Linked DNA regions of Homo sapiens: regions 1, 2, 3 and 4 are each linked to region 5. Evidence: promoter capture Hi-C in 16 types of primary human blood cells and fetal thymus (Javierre and others, 2016). All regions are on one chromosome and are shown on one strand. Each heading gives the region's core, a stretch centred on a gene start or on the middle of the fragment in contact. The rest is flanking DNA. Distances are from core to core; before and after follow the strand shown. Region 1 holds the start of LINC00886 (long intergenic non-protein coding RNA 886). Region 2 overlaps LOC101928236 (a long non-coding RNA gene). Region 3 has its middle 29 kb from the start of VEPH1. Region 4 holds the start of CCNL1 (cyclin L1). Region 5 holds the start of GFM1 (G elongation factor mitochondrial 1).

Region 1 (2,838 bases), core at 146-2,645, 1.8 Mb after region 5:
TGGTTGAATGTCCCAATAGATTGTTCTGTGACAAAAAGCAAGTTAAAAATTGTGTTATAACTACAAAAAAAAAAAACCGTAATATTCTAAACAGCATTCTAAATGTATATTTTATTATTTCTATAAATACATATCTCTTCTCATAGAATCAGAAGAGGTAAACAATCAAGTTTCAGGAAAGCAGGAGCCAGTATTGCTTTGAGAACCTCAGATATGCAATGTGGAATTTGCAAAAGCCATAAAAAGGCTCAGCCCTTAGAATCTACCACTTAATGAAAGTTGGTTCCATTTTCTTTTATTGTTGGCAGTCTCTGCACATGGCAGAGCAGTGGTGGCTGACGGTCCAATTTTGTCACCAAAAGGAACTGGGGAGAAGGCATCTATGCCCACCCTCCTGTTAGAAAATTGCCAGGAAATGACTTTCTTTGGCACAACTTGGATGATATGCAATCTCTTTAACCAAATTACTAAGGCCAGGAGGAGTCAAGTGCTGTTTGTCATTGGCTTACCTTGAGTCAGGTATATGCCTCTCGACCAAGTGTGGGGACCAAGTAGGCAAGGCCACACACAATGACACCTCCCTTTCTAACTACATTCTAGAAGAGTAAAGGCAGAAGCACAATCCAGGCAGGAAGGGTAGGCAGTTCTGTCCCAGAAGAAATTAAGCGTGCTGGGCAGACCAGGAAAAAAAAAAAAAATCCCACGTGAGAATCAGTCAGCTGGTAGAACATTTTAAAATTAAACAGTGAATCTTGCTGCCTTTTCCCACATATGGTAAGCTGAGATGAGAATATGTATTTTTGAGAAAGCTTCCTAGGAGTTTATTGTGTCTATTCTAACCCTAGAGAATCCCCCCTTTCCTATAATGTTACATGTATCACAAAAACAAATGTGTGTGTAACTAGGCACTATAGGCCTAAGAGTCATAATAGGGAAATAAGAGAGCATAGATTCACCAAATCAAAGTTTAAGTACATAGAAAATAAACTAATGTGGAATTTCCCAAGCTTTCAGTTGACTGGGGTGCTCTTGTGTTAAAAACTATCGTGGTAACATTTTTTGTTTTGTCCTCTAAACTTGATTTATCTGCAAATCTACAAACATTTTAATTATGTAAATAGATATCTGTGCGGGCAAAACACTTTTTGCTCACATGATCTTGAGAAGGAACTTAGATTCTGGTGTCTTAAAACGTGGCACCTTTTTTATGTCCTTGGGGCTTTTGAGTCACCATATAAATGAGGTCTCTCATGTTCGTATGCCAGGGAGATCAACCACCTCTGATTTTAAAATAAAACACTGCAAAGAAAGCTTCCGGGAGGAATGAGAGCATGCCCCAAATCACGACTCTGTAATTAGTCTTTGTGCAGAGCGGACAGAAATTTCGTCCCAAAGCCACCGTCCTTGCTCTGGTTCCTTTCTCTGTAAGCATGTCACACGAACCACACTCCTGCGCCATGCATCGCAATTTAAAGCTTTCCTTGTAAAGTTTCCCCAGCTTGATTGCTTATGGAAAGAGCAGCTCCGGTTCCCAATTCGTTTAATACATCCTGTCCGAGCGCGTTTTATTACCGAATGTTACCCACGTTGTGATAACAAGGGGACGCTGTGTCCTCCCCCGGTGAACTCACTCCCTGTCCCAGAAATATAGCGTGACTGCCCTCCCCGGCGGTGTTTTGAAAGTAGAAGCCGGGCGCCGCCCTCCAGCACCTGCACCTCCCGCCCGGCGACGGCCGCCTGAAGCACGAAGTGCGTGCGACCGCAGCCCGGCAGGTCACGCAACCCCAGGCCGCCGCGCCGCCTGCGTGCCTGCAGCCCGCCGGCCCCGCCCCCGCTGCCTGCTTCCGCCGCTTTAGTGCACGCTCGGGCTTCCTGGTGCGCCCGGAGCCTGCCTCGCGTGCCGACCCCGCCGCGTAATCCGGCGAGGCATCCCAGATTCCGCCCGGCTCCAGACGCCCTCCACCGACTTTAGTTCGAGCAGGTGACGCCCTCATTTTAACGCCGAAAAGTGTCAGTTCCCGATATACAACAAACACCTCAGGCTGCGAAACGTGGGATAAGGGGACAGCGGGCTGAGAGTCGACCTCGCCCCTGGGCCCCTCTCGGCCTCCTTGGCGCCTGCTCCCTGCCCGCTCCGTCGGGCGGCCCTGTGCGGGCGGAGAGAGCAGCAAGGCGGCCTCCCGCACTGCCTGGATTTCGAGGGCGGGGGCGGGCGCGGGGGCAGCCCGGCCAGGGCTAGGAGACCCGGGAAGGGGTCGCCAGCGAGTGGCCTTCGCGGAGCTGCCTCACCCCGCCTGCCTGGAGCCGGGAGCCCGGCGTGCACTGACGCCTGGGGCACGCTGGGGGCGACTTTCGTGGCCGGGCGGCTGACCCCGGCGACCCGGCGCAGTGTCCAGAAGTGCGCTGGGGGGTAATGAAGGGCAGCGCTCGCTGAGGCTGAAAGGAGCGAGGGCCGGCGCTGTGTAGGTTAGATTCTTTGTTGACGTCTGGGAGCCGTCTTTTGAAGAATGAGAACGGGGCCGTTATTGCAAGTAGGATGGGCTTCATCGTGGGCCTCGAAGGATCAGGGGTGGGCGCGCCGGCTGCCAGGGCCCCTCTCACGCCACGCCGCGTGCAGGCGAGGGGAAGCGCGTGTCGTGACGACCTGCGATGAGATCAGTTTGAGTAACCACAGCCGTCGGGGCTGAGAAATGCAGCCAGTCACGCAGCGCAGCGCAGCTCAGCGCTGGCTCTGGCCGGGTGGCCGCAGCCGCTCCGCGCTTCGCAGAGGGAGGTGGGGGTGGATCAGCCCCTTCCAGGTGGTCGCCGGTGGGGGCGTCAGAACTATTCTAAGAGGGT
Region 2 (2,700 bases), core at 157-2,656, 1.5 Mb after region 5:
TCAAAGATATTTGTATCAATATGAATTGAGATTAATTATCCAAAATATTTCAATCATCTACAGAATAGATGTTTGAAAGTTCACAATACTCTGGAATAAAATATTTTCTACATAATGTAAAGCAAAGCATTATTTGCAAACATGTAAATACATGTTGTCCCATGAGAGGTTTTCCATTATAACTTCAGAGTAATTAAACATACAAAGACCAATCCCTTGCTAATCTTTCTGTTCAAATTGCTTAATTATGAGAGCTTCTGTGTTCATTGTAAGACAGAAAGATAAGGTTAATAAATCTTGTCCTTTGAACTCTCATTTCAAATTTTATCCCTGAGTGCAGATGTTGTTAAAATGTTTTCTCAAGCTTCTCAGTAACAGAGTTGGTTAGTACTTTTCTGGTGAGGATATTATTTCATGTCTGTATGTTCTAAAGTTCTAGCAGTGTAACATTATTGCTGATTTTAAAGACTGATACACCCCGTCTGGGAAGTGAGGAGCGCTTCTACCCGGCTGCCCCGTCTGGGAAATGAGGAGCGCTTCTGCCCGGCTGCCCCGTCTCGTAAGTGAGGAGCGCCTCTGCCCGGCCGCCCATCATCTGGGATGTGAGGAATGCCTCTGCCCGGCCTCCCCATCTGGGAGGTGAGGAGCACCTCTGCCTGGCCGCCCATCATCTGGGATGTGAGGAGCACCTCTGCCTGGCTGCCCTTCGTCTGGGAGGTGAGGAGCGCCTCTGCCCGGCCGCCCCGTCTAGGAAGCGAGCGCCTCTGCCCGGCCGCCCTTTGGGAGGTGAGGAGCGTCTCTGCCCAGCCACCCCATCTAGGAAGCGAGCGCCTCTGCCCGGCCACCCTTCGTCTGGGAGGTGAGGAGCGTCTCTGCCCAGCCACCCCATCTGGGAGCTGAGGAGCACCTCTGCCCGGCCGCCCATCATCTGGGAAGTGAGGAGCGCCTCTGCCCAGCCGCCCATCGTCTGGGAGGTAAGGAGAGCCTCTGCCCAGCCGCCCCGTCTAGGAAGCGAGCGCCTCTGCCCGGCCGCCCTTTGTCTGGGAGGTGAGGAGCGTCTCTGCCCAGCCACCCCATCTAGGAAGCGAGTGCCTCTGCCCGGCCACCCTTCGTCTGGGAGGTGAGGAGCGTCTCTGCCCAGCCACCCCATCTGGGAGCTGAGGAGCACCTCTGCCCGGCTGCCCATCATCTGGGAAGTGAGGAGCGCCTCTGCCCGGCCGCCCATCGTCTGGGATGTGAGGAGCACCTCTGCCTGGCCGCCCATCATCTGGGAAGTGAGGAGCGCCTCTGCCCGGCCGCCGATCATCTGGGATGTGAGGAGCGCCTCTGCCTGGCCGCCCCGTCTGGGAGGTGAGGAGCGCCTCTGCCCGGCCACCCATCATCTGGGATGTGAGGAGCGCCTCTGCCCAGCCGCCCTTCTTCTGGGAGGTGAGGAGCGCCTCTGCCCAGCCGCCCCATCTAGGAAGCGAGCACCTCTGCCCAGCCGCCCCATCTGTGAGGTGAGGAGCGCCTCTGCCCTGCTGCCCCGTCTGGGAGGTGAGGAGCGCCTCTGCCCGGCCGCCCATCATCTGGGAAGTGAGGAGCACCTCTGCCCGGCCACCCCGTCTGGGAAGTGAGGAGCGCCTCTGCCCGGCCGCCCCGTCTGGGAAGTGAGGAGTGTCTCTGCCCAGCCGCCCCGTATGGGATGTGAGGAGCGCCTCTGTCCGGCCGCCCCGTCTGGGAAGTGAGGAGCACCTTTGCCCAGCCACCCCGTCTGTGAGGTGTACCCAACAGCTCTGAAGAGACAGCGACCATCAAGAAAGGGCCATGATGACGATGGCGGTTTTGTCGAAAAGAAAAGGAGGAAATGTAGGGAAAAGAAGGAGAGATGAGATTTTTACTGTGTCTGTGTAGAAAGAAGTAGACATAGGTGACTCCATTTTGTTCAGTACTAAGAAAAATTCTTCTGCCTTGGGACACTGTTAATCTATAACCTTACCCCCAACCCTGTGCTCTCTGAAACATGTGCTGTGTCAACTCAGGGTTAAATGGATTAAGGGCGGTGCAAGATGTGCTTTGTTAAACAGATGCTTGAAGGCAGCATGCTCGTTAAGAGTCATCACCACTCCCTAATCTCAAGTACCCAGGGACACAAACACTGCGGAAGGCCACAAGGACCTCTGCCTAGGAAAACCAGAGACCTTTGTTCACGTGTTTATCTGCTGACCTTCTCTCCACTATTATCCTATGACCCTGCCACAACCCCCTCTCTGAGAAACACCCAAGAATGATCAATAAATACAAAAAAAAAAAGACTGATACAATCATTCGTTTGTATTTTAAAACTACAAAAATTAAATTAACCCCCAACAATGCTCCTGGTTCCCCCTCCCCATTAAAATGCTGTATATAGTAAGGATAATAAAGTCCTATACATATATAAAACTGTCCTTGGAATAAACAAGCTTCATGTTTCTACCATCCTGGGATCCAGGTTTCCAACTACTTTATGGTTCACTTATAAACTTAAAGAACCACCACCTTGGAAGGTAGAATTTTTTGAAAAAGAGAACAAGATCGAATAACGGTGCTTCTGTGATTTGTAGAGGTCAGGGAAGAAATATAGCATTATACAGATATGGGAATAATTTGTCCTAACATAAATGTTTAGATTGAAGATCACAGAGAGTATCATCTTTTGTCTCCACTATCCAACTACAA
Region 3 (2,847 bases), core at 243-2,742, 1.1 Mb after region 5:
TGACCAGTGTAGCCTCAGGGAGCTGACAAGAACCGGGCCTATTCCCCATATGTGACTCTTATAAGGCCTGAACGAATCTCCTCATGTCTTGGTTTCCTCAGCTACACAAAAAGGCCACTGTGGTAGCAGCCACTCCTTCCTTAGGGTTGGTGAGAAGTGTCAAGATGGAGTTAGGCTCAAGCACTAAGATTTACATTCAAATGCCAGCCATTTTCTCAGTCTTTATGAATAATCCAGACTTTGTGTTTTGGACCCTTAGACATAGTAACAACGCAAACGGAATCAAAATCATCATTCATATTATTAACAAACATTTCTGAGTAATGTTTTGAGTAAATGCCTAATAAAGTTTAAGAAATAAAAGTAACTCATGTTTATTAAAGAGGAATTACTAGGTTTCCATTCATAAGCTTCAATATCCTGCTTAATGGATTCCATACCTAACATAGAAATCCAGTGAATGAATTATGGTCAAACAGTCTACAAAAATTATATGGTTTCCTTTTTTACTGTTGTTTCCCCTACGTGAAATAACAATGAGGAATGTAGCTTGAATAAAGGCATTTCTTGTAACAGAATGAAAGCATTAGGGTGACGCTGGTTGTATTTTAGCTGACTGGAGAGCCTCAAAGCTTTATGGTCAGAATGTGCCCCCTTGTGGAAGATGTGAGTAAAAAACAGTAGAGAGGAAACAGTATTGTGGCCGAGATCTTGGGAAAGAATTGAAGGTGGGAGAGGACTAAAGAGGCAGGAAGCAATGAATTAAAAGCCTGTTGACTACACTTCGTAAAGAACCATATAAGGAAGAAGGCATTGTATCAAATAAGGAAATGAGTGTAGCCAGGTGGAAAGGAGAACCTGGGTTAGGTAAGCTCGCAGTCTTAGGTTCTAGAAAACTTCAATCATTAATAATGAGTATAAATGAAATAGCCACTGAATTAGGCATTTCAGAGTGCTGTCTCTGAGCTCAGCCTGGCTGGGTGCAAATCATGGCTCTGTTAGTAGCTGTGTGACTTTAGGGCGTCATTTTACTGTTCTCTAAGCTTCAGTCATCCCATGTGAAAAACAGAATAGTAACAGTGCCTTTTTAGATGCTGGCTGTTGTTGTAGGTAAAGGTTGCTGTGAGGAGTAAATGAGGTAAAGTATAGAAAGTGTTTTCAGTGTGGTGTCTGCGGTACTGAAATAGCTATCACTACTACCTGCCAGTGTGTGCATTTTAAAACAGTGAAAGACATTTCCTTTTCTATTTTTAAAAATGGCTTCCAGATACAGACAATCACCGACTACAGAGGAAAGCTCTGTGGCTCTGTGAAAGTTGTGAGGCTGAAGATTTTTAAGCCTTTCTATAAGGCTGCTCCAGAGATGGAAAACAAGTTCCCCCTCGACTCATATTCTATGTGTGGGGGGGCAATCCATCCAGACACATTTGGATCAGTGTGACTAATTTGTTTTTACACAGTTGAGGTGAGGTCAGTGAGGGGCTGGGTACTTGGCGGAGCAAGGCTGTTTGGGTGGGTGGTGTGGGGCAGGGGTCAACTTGCTGCGATAGGCAAAGGTAGAAATGGGAAAGGAAATCAGGGCCACAGAAAGAGCCCAGGTTTACTGAAACCCAGAAGAGCTCTACTCCCAAGAGGGCACAGGAGAACTTTATTGGGCCAGTAAACATTTCCACTCAAGCAGCTACATGGTGTCAATGGGCAAACGAAAAAATAACAGGATAATTATAGAAAGTTTTCTGAAATTTGCTTTTATTTTTTTAAAAAAGTGTTTGCCTTTTAATTTCCTCAAATGTGCTACCAAAAATTCAGGTATTTTAAACGTCAGGAAGCACTGGTATGACTAAGTGGAAGAGCGGCTATCAGGGAAGGAGGTCAGCAGTGTGCCTTGGGTGTGAGGGCCGCACACCCAGCCTGAAGGGCTCTCCTTTAGAAGGAAGCTTCAAGAAGATGTGCTGACAGATGGTTCTGCCCCATTTCTCATTCAATGGAGAGCTCCACAAGCTGGGTTTGAAATGCTACTTTTGTGAAATAGTTATCAGATAGGGAATTCCATTTCAACTAACTAACAGTTGGAAGTTACCTCCCTTCTCTTTAGTCACTGTAATGAGTAAGTTTCTTTTGTTTTCTTATATCACAAAATGACAGCCCAATAAGCTCTGGAAATTAATTCATTCTAGTGAATGTTATGAAATGAAACAAAACCAGTTTAATGACTGTAATAACTGAGGTTGGGCATCCGTGACATTCCCTGTAGCCACCCTGTGCTTCTTGCCTCCCTTGGCAGGCTCCTCGGCCTGGGTCGTTCATTTATGCTCCCCACAGTACTCTATCCAGCACTCTACCACCCTCTCCTCAGAAGCTCTCTGCAACTCCCACCTAGCCAGTTCACACCTCTGGGTCACTCACATTTTCTGTTTTGTCTTTTCTGGATCTGGGCTGAGAAGTGAGACCTTTGCTTGCAGGGAGAAATCACCAGATGGTGCTGTCAGAGTCCACCATGTATTTATGCTCTCAAACTCTGATTTGAGACCTCAAGACTTGATTCAAATCTTGTTTCATTTTTTTTCTTTTTATCTCATCACATTCTCCATGGTGTCTGACTCAGACCTATTCCTCCACCCCTAGGTTCTCAGCCGGATGCTACCACTTCCCACTCCTAGGAAATCATATTCCATCCTGTATTTTAGAAGATCTAGGGTAGTTTTCTTGGCTCTCGTTTGTCCACAACAGACTGATTTTTGTTGTTACTCTAAGACATTTTTTTGCATGCCACAGTGGGTTAGGCCTTCCTTTCTGCCAAGGCTGACCCAGCACTCTTCTCTGGATCCTGTTCCTTGGAGCCTTCTT
Region 4 (2,700 bases), core at 129-2,628, 1.5 Mb after region 5:
AAGCAGGAGGATGATTACCCAGTAGCTTAATGGAGTACAGAAGATTTTATATCTTTTTTTCATAGGGGAAAGGGTAGATGAGAAATGTAGACATTTATTTTGAGGAGCAGCAAATGATTATTAGGAACAATGAATGGACAGAAATTAGTAAATAATTTTCTTTTGAGTAATCTTGTGAAAAAGTCCCTCCAGGAATGGCTGCATTTCTGAGTCTTTTTGAAATAGGATACGAGATTTCAGCGAGGGGAGGAATGCGATTGATTCTTCTACAAAGAGGCTTCTCTAGTCAGGAAAGGAAATTTCAGAGAGTACCTCCCTGCACTTGGGAAAAGTGGGAGCAACAAGTCAAGGTTGGGGGACCTGCATTATGAGGCAGCTTCTAAAGCCTCTGTCTTTGGGGTATCGCTTTCTGAGCGTCAAGAGTAAAACGTGATGCATTCCTTTCCTTCCAACCTAGATTCTAGTAGTTTAGATCAGTATCATTGTTTTTACTTCAAGGTTCAGGAAACGCTGGAAATTGCTAGCTAATATCACAGGAAAAAAAACAAAAAACACGAGGTTGACCTCACCCTACCCGCGGTAGGTAACCATGTATGAATAGAGACTCCCAGGCATAATCAAATTACCTCTGTCAAGTCCTCGCCCTAAGACTATTTTTGGAAACTAGGGATTTTCCAGATTACTGAAAGCCGTGGCGGTGTCAAAGGCCGGGCAGGAGTTTCGCAAGCGGAGCTATGAAAGCAGCCACTCTCGCGGTCATTCCTATGCCTCCGCCCTACTTCCCCATACTGGCAAAAACACGCTCCCCGGGGAGCTTTCATTTGGGAACCGATAGGGTCCACAGCCCTGTGTTCTTCAAATACTGTAAAGCAGCCCTCTCCAGATTCCTTGAGGGTCACTTTATATTACACATTCGTCCACACAGGACAACAAAGTCACCACTTCCACCCGCCAAAGCGCGCTCAGGTCGGCCGCCACTTCCCTTGGTACACGCGGAACGCAAGCCGCGCCGAGGCTAAAGGAAGAGGCCGGAATGCAGGGCGAAGGGGCGCAGAGATGCTAGCCAATGCTGCCACCTCTATTTTGGGTATAAGGGATCTTGTAAAGCTCCGTTATTCGTGTGGCTATCACAAACAAGGTGGTTTCGACCGGCCTTGGCTAGAGAAGGCCTCCTCAGCCTCTGAGGATCCCAAGGTCTGTCGCAGCACCCAACACTCCCCTCGCAGGCCCAGATGCCGAGGGCGGAGGCGCGGCCTGGAGGGACTAGTTGGCGCGCGGCTGCCCGGCGTGGTGACGTCAGGGCGGAAGCGCACGCGGCGTGAAGCGGCCCAGAACCCGGCGGTCACGGGAATATCCGTCGCGCCGAGAACGCTGGTTAGTCTTGTTTCGGGTTCCGGCTGCGTTGGGCTTGCGTGCGGCTCGCTAAGACTATGGCGTCCGGGCCTCATTCGACAGCTACTGCTGCCGCAGCCGCCTCATCGGCCGCCCCAAGCGCGGGCGGCTCCAGCTCCGGGACGACGACCACGACGACGACCACGACGGGAGGGATCCTGATCGGCGATCGCCTGTACTCGGAAGTTTCACTTACCATCGACCACTCTCTGATTCCGGAGGAGAGGCTCTCGCCCACCCCATCCATGCAGGATGGGCTCGACCTGCCCAGTGAGACGGACTTACGCATCCTGGGCTGCGAGCTCATCCAGGCCGCCGGCATTCTCCTCCGGCTGCCGCAGGTCAGTGCTCCGGCCCCGGGCCGGCCGGGCGCTCCTCTCCTCTCCTCCGTCCCCTACGCCGCATCTCAGTATCACCGTGCCCCGGGAGGGTGGGGACGGTTCCTTCAGGCTTTCCCGTTCGGGGCCCAGCCGCGGCCGGGGCGTGCCGGGGCGGGGGGCTGCGGAGGCGGAGGGAGGACTTGGCAGCGGGCTGTTCGCAGCGGCGGCGGCGGCGGGAGGGGAAAGGGAAGCGATCGGCGGCACAAAATGGCGGCGGCGCCTGGAGCGGGCCCGCCTGACCCCTGCGCTTCCGTTCTCCTCTCTTGTCTGCAGGTGGCGATGGCAACGGGGCAGGTGTTGTTTCATCGTTTTTTCTACTCCAAATCTTTCGTCAAACACAGTTTCGAGGTAAGCACAGCGGAGGCGGGTAAAAGGGATTTCTTCATCCGGAAATGGGCAGAGTAGGGGTAGTGTCAGCAGCCAGCTTTTCCAGAAAGGGAGTGGTTTAGTTTAGGCCTTTGTACCTACTTCTCACTCGCCAGGAAGTGGAAACCTTTAGAATGTGGTTCAAAATCGATCACGAGCCTAAGTGCCCTCTTAACGAAAAGTACAGTTTTCAACCAAATGCAGAACTCCTGTAAGATTGAGTTTGACTCTGGAACCAAAATTAAGATGAGTTAAACAACAAAAAGTATAGTACTAGCATAGCTGGTAGACTTACGGCATAGAGATGTCTTCTCTAATTTTACTAAAGGTTGTCCCAATTGTGTTCTAAATTTTATTCTTCAAAGTGAGTTTAATCTAACAATGGCTTTTGTGGCTCATGGGTTCTTTCAGATTGTTGCTATGGCTTGTATTAATCTTGCATCAAAAATCGAAGAAGCACCTAGAAGAATAAGAGATGTGATTAATGTATTCCACCACCTCCGCCAGTTAAGAGGAAAAAGGTAAGATTGGCATTATTGAACATAGTATCTCTTGCTACTGC
Region 5 (2,705 bases), core at 196-2,695:
TTCTATAAAAAATAAAAATAAAACCAGAACACAGATACTTAACTTAAGCAACTTTCAGATAAGCCTAACTGTCAAAAGTCCGCTGTTACCATTGTTTTAATCTTTCAGGTTTATAAGCTTTATTAAATAATAGCAACAAAACAATTAAAATCTGGTTCTAATTAATCCGGAATCAACCGTGAATATATACCTCATGCATCTTTGCAATTCTGCCAGTGTAGTAAAGGACTCGTTCTGTTAATGTAGTTTTCCCAGAATCAATGTGAGCTGAGATTCCAATATTTCGTATTTTTTCATTAGGAATCACCCCTGATGAAGACCATCGGCAGGCCTTCCAATTAACCTGAAAAAAATACGAGAGCTCAATTCTATGCACCTTTTATAAGAGAGAACAACAGACAATTAAAAGGAGTATGGTGGACATTATTCCTCCAAGAAATCTCACTGGATATGAGATAGCTTGAGAAAGGCACCAGGGGAAACCTTTAAGCCTGGAACTCTTGTAATCAGAGGACAGACTTCAAAACAAGACAGTAAAGACGTATTCTTTTAAAATTAATTAATGAATAAGTTAAATTTAATTAAAATGGGAGACACTTTTTACTGCAGATTTGAAAATACACACTGGGGCAGATAAAATCACAAAGACAGCTCCAAAAAATACTTTAATAGAAAATACAAATTTTAGCTTAAATTTAACTTAATTTTTTTCCCTTTCTCCTTTATTGTAGTTCACAGATGACAAATATGTTTGAGAACTTATATGCTCTATGCAGTGATGCTAGTAGCTCCAAGACAGCCCCCAAAGATTTCCAATTCCCTCCAAACAAAAACAATTCATGAAGCTTGTTTTAACTTTACTCTGGTGGCAGGGGATGGGGATCCCTATTAGATGGAATGAAGATACAATATAAACCTTTCCCTATAGGACTGCACATCCAAAATGCACAATTATTCACGGGAAAAGAGAGGCAAAAAAAAAAAAAAAAAACCTTAGAAAAGGTGGATAAAATATCAAAGTATCTGAGTGACAGACACTTTTAGTTGATTAAACCCTAGGGATACCAGAGAGCGAAACAAACGAGCTAACGAGCTAATGTGCAGGCACCGAGGTGCTTTTCAGCACTGACGAGCGACTGCCAGTATTCGGAGCTGTCAGTCATGAGGACCCAGGGGGTGTCACGGCCTTCCATTGCCCAGAAGGGATCACAAGGTTCCGGGAATGGTCCCGATTTAGCCTCTCTATGCTCCGGTACCTGCTTCCTCTGCCAGCCTAGGGAGGCGGGGGCCCTTCCGCGCCCCAGAGCCGCGACGGCTGCAGCTCCCAGGAGTCTCATGGCAAGCGCAGAGCACGCGTCAAAGTCCCGTGGCGCCGGGTGGGTTCAGCTGCCGGTAACGCACCGGGAAGCGGTCAAAGTCACGCCGGCAGCCAATGTTGTAAGAGCACTTCCGGGGCAAAGGACGCGAGGAAAAAGAGAGTGAGGAAAAGAAAGAAGAGCAACTGGATTGGAGGCGGAGCAGTGCCTACGCTGCTCGCGCGCCGTCTGCCGACTTGGAAGAGAAAGTGCAATCGCTTTGCGGAGCTAAAGAAGTGTTTGCTCCCAGTAAGACGGCATAGGTATATGGGTGAGGGAAGGGAGTCCTTTTGTCTTCGTCTTCTTTTTTAAATATTACCTCTGTATGAAGATACAGAATTTAAACATGGTTGTTAGGCCTATAAAGCAATGTGGAGAAATGTATATAACAATTTAAGTAGAAAAGAGCAAAATTGTCTATTACAAATATTAATAGGTATATATATGACATGGCCTGAAAAAGAACGTGGACAAATTATAGTGAATGAACTATCAATTACAATTACAAATACTTTTCCTCATGTCAAAATGTTATTTGTTATTGTTCGATGTCAGACATTTCATGTCCTGTCCATGTGGAAGACTGCATCCTTGACCATTCTGCTTGGATGTGTTAAGAGGCATGTTGAACCTAACAGGTCCAAAACTGAGCTTCGGATCTTCTTCCCCAAACCTTCCACAGTCTTATCCATCTCATAAATGTAAACTTTAGTGATTCTAGCCAAAAATATTAGTCGCTTTGACACCATGCTGTGACATCTCCGGTCTAATCAGTCAGCATATCCTGTAAGCTCTACTTTCAAAAAGACATCCAGGGCCGGACGCGGTGGCTCACACCTGTAGTCCCAGCACTTTGGAAGGCCGAGGCGGGCAGATCACGAGGTCATGAGATGGAGACCATCCTGGCTAACACAGTGAAACCCCGTCTCTACTAAAAATACAAAAAAAAATTAGCCGGGCGCGGTGGCGGGCGCCTGTAGTCCCAGCTACTCGGGAGGCTGAGGCAGGAGAATGGTGTGAACCCAGGAGGCGGAGCTTGCAGTGAGCCGAGATCACGCCACTGCACTCCACCCTGGGTGACAGAGCGAGTCTCAAAAAAAAAAAAAAAAAAAGAAAATCCAGAACTTACTTCTCCCCACCTCTCAGTACTGCCGTTTCTGGAGGGAACTATTGTAATAGCCTTGTAACCGATCTCACTGCTTCTATCCTTGCTGTTGTCAGTGGGCCGGTTCAGGTGCTTGACTTCACCACACAAAAGAATTTGAAAGCAAGTACAAAGTAAGAGTAGGCAAAAAAGTTTATTGTAAACCAAAAGTACACTCTGAGAGGCAGAGTGGGCTGCTCAGAAGA

Evidence for each region. The method cuts DNA at HindIII sites, captures the fragments that hold promoters and counts their contacts. A CHiCAGO score of 5 or more calls a contact.
Region 1: a contact is called between a fragment that was not itself captured here and the fragment with the promoter of GFM1 in region 5, in 1 of 17 cell types (total CD8 T cells). The highest score is 5.0, in total CD8 T cells.
Region 2: a contact is called between a fragment that was not itself captured here and the fragment with the promoter of GFM1 in region 5, in 5 of 17 cell types (activated CD4 T cells, total CD8 T cells, naive CD4 T cells and 2 more). The highest score is 7.8, in activated CD4 T cells.
Region 3: a fragment that was not itself captured here is called in contact with the fragment with the promoter of GFM1 in region 5 in 1 of 17 cell types (endothelial precursors); the score reaches 5.1 in endothelial precursors.
Region 4: the fragment with the promoter of CCNL1 here is called in contact with the fragment with the promoter of GFM1 in region 5 in 4 of 17 cell types (total CD8 T cells, activated CD4 T cells, total B cells and 1 more); the score reaches 8.3 in total CD8 T cells.

The regions. Positions count from the first base shown.
Region 1 is chr3:156,816,030-156,818,867 of GRCh38, reverse strand. LINC00886 (long intergenic non-protein coding RNA 886) reads left to right here and starts at 1,806. Exons shown (of 3, transcript NR_038387.1): 1 at 1,806-1,981. RefSeq lists an enhancer at 709-1,908 and silencers at 1,793-2,002, 2,023-2,352. The HindIII fragment of the contact is 164 bases long and covers 1,314-1,477 here.
Region 2 is chr3:157,177,533-157,180,232 of GRCh38, reverse strand. The region is part of intron 2 of LOC101928236 (a long non-coding RNA gene); the gene reads right to left. Among named protein-coding and RNA genes, the nearest start is that of CCNL1, 19 kb to the right of the region's middle. RefSeq lists an enhancer at 1,849-2,350. The HindIII fragment of the contact is 2,080 bases long and covers 367-2,446 here.
Region 3 is chr3:157,530,588-157,533,434 of GRCh38, reverse strand. No RefSeq gene overlaps it. Among named protein-coding and RNA genes, the nearest start is that of VEPH1, 29 kb to the right of the region's middle. The HindIII fragment of the contact is 894 bases long and covers 1,046-1,939 here.
Region 4 is chr3:157,158,825-157,161,524 of GRCh38, reverse strand. It overlaps CCNL1 (cyclin L1), which reads left to right and starts at 1,378. Exons shown (of 11, transcript NM_020307.4): 1 at 1,378-1,733; 2 at 2,046-2,120; 3 at 2,550-2,659. The coding sequence starts at 1,431. RefSeq lists enhancers at 517-576, 597-646, 734-1,463, 2,097-2,166 and a silencer at 1,747-1,956. The HindIII fragment of the contact is 11,903 bases long and covers 1-2,700 here.
Region 5 is chr3:158,643,267-158,645,971 of GRCh38, reverse strand. It overlaps GFM1 (G elongation factor mitochondrial 1), which reads right to left and starts at 1,445. Exons shown (of 18, transcript NM_024996.7): 1 at 1,257-1,445; 2 at 191-343. The coding sequence starts at 1,337. The HindIII fragment of the contact is 2,960 bases long and covers 848-2,705 here.